Regions from separate parts of the Homo sapiens genome. Here all the other regions are linked to region 3. The links are contacts of gene promoters, found by promoter capture Hi-C in human tissues and cell types (Jung and others, 2019). All regions are on one chromosome and are shown on one strand. Each heading gives the region's core, a stretch centred on a gene start or on the middle of the fragment in contact. The rest is flanking DNA. Distances are from core to core; before and after follow the strand shown.

Evidence for each region. Contacts are between HindIII fragments. The study calls those that stand out against the background at their distance.
Region 1: the fragment with the promoter of ZNF589 here is called in contact with a fragment that was not itself captured in region 3 in 4 of the 25 tissues and cell types used here (adrenal gland, aorta, dorsolateral prefrontal cortex and 1 more).
Region 2: the fragment with the promoter of ELP6 here is called in contact with a fragment that was not itself captured in region 3 in 2 of the 25 tissues and cell types used here (adrenal gland and lymphoblastoid cells).

What each region holds. Positions count from the first base shown.
Region 1 is chr3:48,239,724-48,242,661 of GRCh38, forward strand. ZNF589 (zinc finger protein 589) reads left to right here and starts at 1,381. Exons shown (of 4, transcript NM_016089.3): 1 at 1,381-1,491. The coding sequence starts at 1,449. RefSeq lists enhancers at 536-830, 1,148-2,065, 1,256-1,550. The HindIII fragment of the contact is 6,944 bases long and covers 1-2,938 here.
Region 2 is chr3:47,512,244-47,514,992 of GRCh38, forward strand. ELP6 (elongator acetyltransferase complex subunit 6) reads right to left here and starts at 1,469. Exons shown (of 7, transcript NM_001031703.3): 1 at 1,294-1,469. The coding sequence starts at 1,347. RefSeq lists enhancers at 884-993, 1,324-1,433. The HindIII fragment of the contact is 13,702 bases long and covers 1-2,749 here.
Region 3 is chr3:47,889,036-47,891,822 of GRCh38, forward strand. All of the region lies in intron 10 of MAP4 (microtubule associated protein 4), which reads right to left. Among named protein-coding and RNA genes, the nearest start is that of MIR1226, 41 kb to the left of the region's middle. The HindIII fragment of the contact is 3,896 bases long and covers 1-2,787 here.

The DNA of each region.
Region 1 (2,938 bases), core at 131-2,630, 350 kb after region 3:
GGAATAATGGCTGGTAATATTTAGAATTCCAGCCCTTCTCATCCTAATTTGGTGGCTGGTGGCCTTTCATTCATTTTACAAGAACAGTTTAGCCCTTGGGAAGGGCTATTATTTAAGCTATAAACTGAATTCCTTCCCAAGGCTACTTTGGCCTATGCCCAGAAGTGGACAAAGACAGTTTAGAGGTTGAAAGGAAGATGAGGTGGGTTAGATCTGATATCTTTTACTGTCATTGATAAGGCTCTGATGACTGGAGGAACACCAGGGTCCTTGGTCTCTGATAGGCTTAATAACACAGACACACGTGGAGTGGTTTTAAGGAGCGAAAAGTTTAATAGGCAAGAAAGAAGGAAGGAAGACGAAAACAGCTCCCCCATACAGAGACAGAGGGAGCGGGGATTCCAACAAAGAGAAAGCGCCGTGTGCGGAAAAGTGGCTGCTTATCTGAGGATGCTGGAGGAGGCGGTGTCTGGTTTCCATAGGGCTCAGGGGATTAGTTTGATCAGATGTGTCATTTATGTGGCAGCCAAAAACCTGGCCCTCCCACCCTAGCTTTTTAATATGCAAATGTAGGGCTCCATGAAGTTCTACACACGTGGGAATATGTGGGGGGTGGCCATGTTGCCAGGCACATGTCAGGGCAAAGAAAAGGACGGCGGGAATCGCCATGTTTGGGTGCGTCCAGTTTCTAATGGCCTGTATTTCCATATCAAAGCTTGCCATCCTGCTCTAGGAGCCCAGGCTTTCCTGCTAGACAAGAAACCTTTCTGGAGCTGCTTTAAAAGAAACAAAAACTTCCCAAGGACCCCTTTCCTTCTCTATCTGCTTAAAATAATTTCTTAATAACTCCTATAACATCATAATTTCCTTAGGTATAATTTTGCAAAGGCGGTTTCAAAAGCTCTTTGGGGTCCTCAGTAATTTTTAAGAGTGTAAAAGGATTTTAACAACAACAAGTTTGCGAACCACTGTCCTTGAGAAGCTCTCCATGGATGCGCATGAGTCTGTCCAATTGGAGTCCTGGTGTATTTCTACATTAGATACCACACAGCAGTGAACACACAATGAACAGGTCAACACGTGTCATTATAGAACTGCGCAAAAGAGCTAGTAGCAGGCATTGTAAGTGTATTTATATAATGTTTACAACCATGGAAAACAACACTATATTTTGCTTATGGGTACCTGTGGTAAGCACAACCCCAAATATTGCGGCCGAGGGGGACCTAGAAGGTCAAAGTGCGCCTCAGCATTTTCTCTCGCCCTGCACAAGCCGCATTTCGCCCCGAGAACTACGCTTCCCGGCAGGCTGCGCGCCGCGCGGTGACGCACTTCACCCAGTCCTGCTTCTTTCTTCTGGCGCCGCCAGTGGCCCGCGGTGCGCATTCTAATCCGTTTCACACACGGTGCTGCTACCTCGTTTGCTTCGTGCGTGCGTGCGCGCGCAGATGTGGGCCCCGCGGGAGCAGCTACTGGGCTGGACTGCGGAAGGTGAGTCGGGGCCGCGAGATCGCCTCCCCCATTCGGTGCTCCAGCCGCAGGCGCCGCGCAGGCGTCGGCCGTATCCACCAGGGATGCGCGTGGGGTGCGAGCTGTGTGAGGCGCTGACTACCCCTACAGCGGCTCTTACTCCCCTGGGGGGCCAGGTTCCTCCCTAGGTGTCCCGTACAGTCTCCACGGTGCTCACTCCACGACTCTTCACCGGGCATCCTGCACTTGTGCACTCCGGCAGTCATTGGCCATAAATGGCTGCTGAGCATTTGAGATGTGTGGAGTGCAACTGAAGAACAGCATTTTGTATTATTATATTATATCATATTTATTTTGAGACGGAGTCTCGCTCTGTCGCCCAGGCTGGAGTGCAGTGGCGCGATCTCCGTTCACTGCAATCTCCGTCTCCCGGGTTCAAGCAGTTCTCTGCCTCAGCCTGCCGAGCAGCTGGGATTACAGGCGCCCTCCACCACGCCTGGCTAATTTTTGTATTTTTAGTAGAGACGGGGATTTCACCATGTTGGCCAGGCTGGTTTTGAACTCCAGACCTCGTGATCCGCCCACCTCGGCCTCCCAAAGTGCTGGGATTACAGGCGTGAGCCACCGCGCCCGGAGTATATTATATTTTTATATTTTTTGAGTCGGTCCGGAGTGCAGTGGCGGGATCTAGGCTCACTGCAGCCTCCGCTTTCCCAGGCTCAAGTGATTCTCGTGCCTCAGCTTCCGGAGTAGCTGGGATTACAGGCGGCGCCTCACCACCCCGGCTGTTGTATTTTTAGTAGAGAGGGGATTTCGCCATATTTGCCAGGCTGGTCTCGAACTCCTGGCCTCAAGCAATCCACCCACCTTGGCCTCCCACAATGTTGGGATTACAGGTGTTAGCCACCCCACCCGGCCCAAAAGACTTTTTTTTTGGAGACAGAGTCTTGCTCTGTAGCCCAGGCTGGAGTGCAGTGGGCGATCTCTGCTCACTGCAACCTCTTTCTCCCAGGTTCCAGCGATTCTCCTGCCTCAGCCTACCAAGCGGCTGGAATTACAGGGACACGCCACCACGCCCGGCTATTTTTTTGTATTTTTAGTAGAGGCGGGGTTTCATCATGTTGGCCAGGCCGGTCTTGAACTCCTGACCCCAGATGATCCACCTGCCTCGGCCTCCCAAAGTGTTGGGATTACAGGTGGGAGCTACCACACCCGGCCCCAAATGACTTTGGATGTAACAACAGGAACAGTCTAGAACAGGGCTGGGCAAATTTTTTTCTGTTTGGTTTTTTTAGAAACAGGGTCTCCCTATGTTGCCCAGGCTGGTCTCCAACTCCTGGGCTCAAGGGATCCTCCCGCCTCGGTCTCCCAAAGTGCTAGGATTATAGGCGTGAGCCACTGCACCTGGTCTTGCAAACGTTTTCTTTTAAGGGCCAGGTGGTAAATGTTTCAGGCTTTGTAGGCCACA
Region 2 (2,749 bases), core at 219-2,718, 380 kb before region 3:
AATAAACCAGGCTGGGCGTGGTGGCTCACGCCTGTAATCCCAGCACTTTGGGAGGCAGAGGCGGGCGGATCACCTGAGGTCAGGAGTTCCAGACCAGCCTGGCCAACATGGTGAAACCCCGTCTCTAACAAAAAATACAAAAAAAAATCAGCCAAGTAATTAGCCCGGTGTGGTAGCGCACGCCTGCAATCCCAGCTACTTGGGAGGCTGAATAAGGAGAATCACTTGAACCCGGGAGGTGAGGTTGCAGGGAGCCGAGATCGCGCCAGTGCACTCCAGCCCAGGCGAGGGAGCGAGACTCCATCAAAAATAAATAAATAAATAAATAAGCCAAAAGATACACTCCTGAAAGAGGTTACTCCTACGTTAAAATGTGAAAGGTTTCAAGGTACCCCGGAGTGTGAGGAGGGTGGAGAGAACAGGCCAGCCTGGGGTGCCCAAGACGGACTTGGTCCAAGCCAATTTGGCTCTGTCCTGCTTCTAACAGTTCTATTAGAGATCACAAGGAGGAAGAGTAAGAAGAACAGCAGCGTTCAATACAATGTGCCAATTGCTCCGGGGCGAGGTGGCGGTTAGGAAGCTCGCCCATGAAGACGGCGGCGAAACGAACTCCCCTCTCCTCTCGGGCCTATTCTGCAGTCTCCTCTGAGCGCCTGGGACCCCCCACCCCAGTGAACATGCACAGCGCGCCACAGTTCACGTCCGCGAATATAACCCAACCCCACTGTCGGCCATGCTTCCCAGGTACTTTTTTTTTTTTTTTTTGAGGTGGAGTCCCGCTCTGTCGCCCAGGCTGGAGTGCGGTGGCGAGATCTCGGGTCACTGCAACCTCCGCCTCCCGGGTTCAAGCAATTCTCCTGTCTCAGCCTCCCGAGTAGCTGAGATTACAGGCATGAGCCACCACGCCCGGCTAATTTTTGTATTTTTCGTAGAGACGGGGGTTTCACCATCTTGGCCAGACTTGTCTCGAACTCTTGACCTTAGATGATGCACCCGCCTCGGCCTCCCAAACTGCTGGGATTACAGGGGTGAGCCACCGCGCCCGGCCGCTTCCCAGGGACTTTTAAGGACACGCACAGCCGTTGAGAATATGCGAGATGGCCCAGAAGCCCACTTTCGGCGGGCCCAAGCCTCCAGTCCAATCCCCGGGTCGATCCTCTGCGGACTACAACTCCCAGGTACCCCGTGCCGGGTCGTCGCGCCATTCCCCGGGGTCGTGCGCACCGCCTCCCGGATGCAGTATTCCGCTGCCCTGCCAGGTCCCGCCCCCTTCCGGCCAGCGGGACCTCTTACCTGCTCCGCCCTGTCGGGGGTGGTGTTAAGCAGGTTATTAAGTTCCACGAACATTCCGAGCTCCTGGGACTAGCGCTCTGGAGGAGAACCCGGAGTGCTGCAGAGACGACGGAGGCTGGAGAGCAAAACACACCCGACAGCCCGGCTCGCGCAAGGAAGCGCGCATGCGCAATGCCACTTTTGCGAGCCAGCCACAGCCAATGAGGCGGGTGCCTCGATGGGACCGCTGCGCACGCGCGTAGACGTCCGTCGAGTCCCAGGTGGTAGGAAACGATGGGCTTCTCTGTGCGACTGCCAGCGGCCTCTGGCGGCTCATTCCGCGCAGATCTGCGTGGCGCCCGAGCCCTCCCAGTGGGCCCCCAAGGCTCCACGCGACCGAGTATTCTTCTTCCCTTGGCCTCGCTCTCTGCCCAGCCCCGGGCTCCTTTTCTCCACACGTGGCTGTCAAGCGCCTTCTGTATGCCCCACACTCCTGGGAGCTTGGGCTACATCGATGAACAAAAACAAAGGACAGGGAATTTATTATTATTATTATTATTATTATTATTATTATTATTATTTAATTGAGACGGAGTCTTGCCCTGTCGCCCAGGCTGGAGTGCAGTGGCGCGATCTCGGCTCACTACAGTCTCCGCCTCCTGGGTTCACGCCATTCTCCTGCCTCAGCCTCCCGAGTGTAGCTGGGACTACAGGCGCCCGCCACCACGCCCGGCTAATTTTTTGTATTTTTAGTAGAGACGGGGTTTCACCGTGTTAGCCAGGATGGTCTTGATCTCCCGACCTCGTGATCCGCCGGCCTCGGCCTCCCAAAGTGCTGGGATTACAGGCATGAGCCACCACGCCCGGCCGACACGGAATTATATCTTGAAAAGTTGTGTGGAGAAAAGCAAAGTGGGATTAGAGAGTACCAATGGGGGCAGGGGTAGGTTCCAGAATTAAAGAGGTTGTCAGGGTGGGTCTCACTAAGAAAGTGTGGTTGCGGCTGGGCGCGGTGGCTCACACCTGTAATGCCAGCACTTTGGGAGGCCTAGACGGAGGGATCACGAGGTCAGGAGTTCGAGACTAGCCTGGCCAATATAGTGAAACCCCCTTCTCTATTAAAAATACAAAAAATTAGCCTGGCGTGGTGGGGGGCGCCTGTCATCCCAGCCACTCGGGAGGCTGAGCCAGTAGAATCGCTTGAACCTGGGAGGCAGAGGTTGCAGTAAGCCGAGATCACGCCATTGCTCTCTAGCCTGGGCAGCAGTGTGAGACTTCGTTAAAAAACAGTGTGGTTGCAACACGCCCTGTATGCCTGTCCTCAGAGCCTTTATACTAACTCTTCCCTCTTCCTGGAATGCCCCTTTTCCCAGATATTAAGCTGATTTTAAAATTCCCCACTTCCTTCAGGTCTCTGCTCCGATGTCACTTTATTCGTGAGGCCTTCCCTGAGCACCTTACTTAAATCACAAACTGT
Region 3 (2,787 bases), core at 171-2,670:
AAGCTGGCCACAGAGCTCAAACCATGGCAACTCAATGCTATTCTGTCCTGGGCAGAGTTACAAGGGAAGCAAAAAGAGATGACAGAGGAAATACAGATTTTTAAAGGGAAGAGAATGGAGTACATGTGCAGGGAGAAGCAGAGGTCCCAAGAGAGATATACACAATGGCAGCAGCCTGGCCACATTTCCTGTGACTGGATGCCCTGAGATTCCTCCATTGTTCTTTTACCTAACATGAGCTGTCTAGGCTTCATATCTTTGTTTAATATGAGTTCCCTTGCCTGGAAGGCTTTCCCTCCGCATTATTTGGCATCCCAGGGTTCCAAGGCCCACCTCAAATGTGACTTCCTCCAAAATGTTTCCACAATTCACAACCCTCCCACTGCCTCCCAGTCCTCCAACTGGATCAAAAGTTGCTTGAGGATAAGGATAATTTCCAGTGCCTAGATAGTGAATGCAAATGGTAGGCATGTTAAATGAAACAATCTTCCTATAAAAGTTTTATCTACAGAGTGGTTAGCAGAGTCAGCATTTAAACATTTATCGGGTGAATGGATCGGTGGATTTGTCAGTCATCTGAAATTTTTTTCTATTAGCACAAACTTCTGTTAGTCTGAATTAGAAAGAACTTGTTCTGAAACAAAGTCTTCACTCATGATCACCTAGAAGTTATGTGGTACTGAACAAAGCACCTGGGGATCAAGAAAAAGATGACAAAGTCCTGTCCAGGAAGAGCTTACAGTTCTGTCCCAGCTAGAAGGAAGCAACAGCATGGGACACCTGAATGCTTGTAATTCTGGAGTCATAAGAAATCAAAGAGGAACTATTAAGCTTCTTTGCCTCCATAAAAAAACGTGTTTTTTATCTCCATAAAAAACAAAAAATGTTTTTTATCTCCATAAAAAAAAAAAACCCAAAACATCTGTATGTCTTCTACTTACCACTCCCCTAGAAAATACCATTTCTTACTTTCAAAGAAAAAAAGTACAATTTCATAAAAATATACTGAGAGTAATAAATATTAGAGAAAACAGGTCCCAGGAAACAAGACTATTTTTTTTTAAACAAGCAAAACACATGTTTTAAATCCCCATTTACAAGTTTGTGAATTATGGCCCTTTGTGCTCAAACTGGACTCGGAGAAACACAAGCTTTTTTAGACCACCACAATAAGAGCTGTGGGGGGATGGGAGATGGGGAAGAAAAGAAAGGGCCAGGAAGAAAGACACAAAAGGCTGTCACAAAGACCGCAAAATTTAGCTGTTTATTAGGTTGCAAGTCTCTCCTTCTCTCCCTGCTTTCTCTTTCTTCTTTTTCTCCCCACAAATCCTCTCAAAACACATACAAAAAGAGAAAACTAGAAGCAAGATTGGGTCAAACATGAAGAACACAGAAAGAATATTAAATAGCTAGCTTTAAAGGGCTCTTTTTCAGTTTGAACAAAAGTAAAACGTTCTCCAAAGCAAAAACAGAAAACAGAGCTTCCACCCAGATTGTGCAACTTAATGAGAGGAGGTTAGTGCTGATAAACCCATTGTGAATCTATATAAAGTGACAGATTTTCAAGCAAGGAAATCAATCAGTTGGGATTGAAGGATTTAGAGCTCAGGAATCATCTGGTTCAAACCAACAGGGAGCTGAGGGCTGGGTGGATGGGGGATGGGTTGGACAGGGTGACATGAGGTCAAGAAAGGGGGTCTAGTTTTTATACCCACCATTCTCTGACCCCATTCCACCCCAAACTTGCACACTCAATTCACATTATCTGTCATGCTAGCAAGACATTCAGCTTGACCCTGCAAGATTCACTTTGTTCTCTTCCTTGCCTCACTCCCAGCAAGCTTCCAACACAAGGGAATTAAGCTTTCCCCAGGCAGTCACAGAACCCAGCTGTAAAAAGCTGCTTAGTGCTCTGCCGGTAATCTGTCACTTTGGTTCCTTCCTTGCTGTCTGCTTGTTCCCAATGGAGGCAAAATTTAGAAACATACCATCACGTGGGGGCTTTTCAAACAGGAACGATGGAGTGCTCTGGGTTGCAGTGACCTCAATTTCTTTCTTCCCTGCCAGAGCCGTCTGTCCTGGCTGTTTCTCTCCTCGCTGGCAAACCTGCGAGCATGAATCAATTCTAGTTTCACTAAAATCTTCCTGCCCTTTTTCCTTGCTGCTTCCTTCAGGAATCTGCTCCAGCTTACTATGGAGATATAATCCAGCAGTGCCGAGTTCCTTCTTCCCAGAGTTGCTGCTGCTGTTGCTGAAGTGAGCCAATTCTTCTCTCTTCTTGGCCACTGGTTCCTCACAGATGAAAGGAGGTATCTCTTTAGTAGACAAGATGGGCAGTTTCCCAGGGCTCAATTTGTAGCTAGCTGTCTGTTCCTCACCCACAGTCATGGAGCGCTTCATAGCAGGAGCTCCCAGTTTCCCAGGTGTAGGACTAGGCATTGGGCTACTAGGGGGAGGCAGCAGGCCAGAAGAAGGCTCTTCTCGGGCAGGGAGTTCAGGGTACTTATCTGCAAGGTTGACAGCTGGGGGAACTGAGAGGTGAGAACATTCAGACAGGGCCCTGCGCACTGCCTTTTTCTGCTGGGGGGCTTGGTTGAGCACAGCCTCCTCGGTAGAACTCAATTTCTCCAACTCCTTATCATGGTCTCTGATGTGACAGCTTGCATTCAAATGTTCCTGGGTGAACACCATAGTGATTGGCGGAATGGTGGTGGGTGAATGCTCAATAATGGGGGCTGGGTGGGCTAGAGACACCAGGAGTGGGGACTCACACTTCAGCTGCTCAGA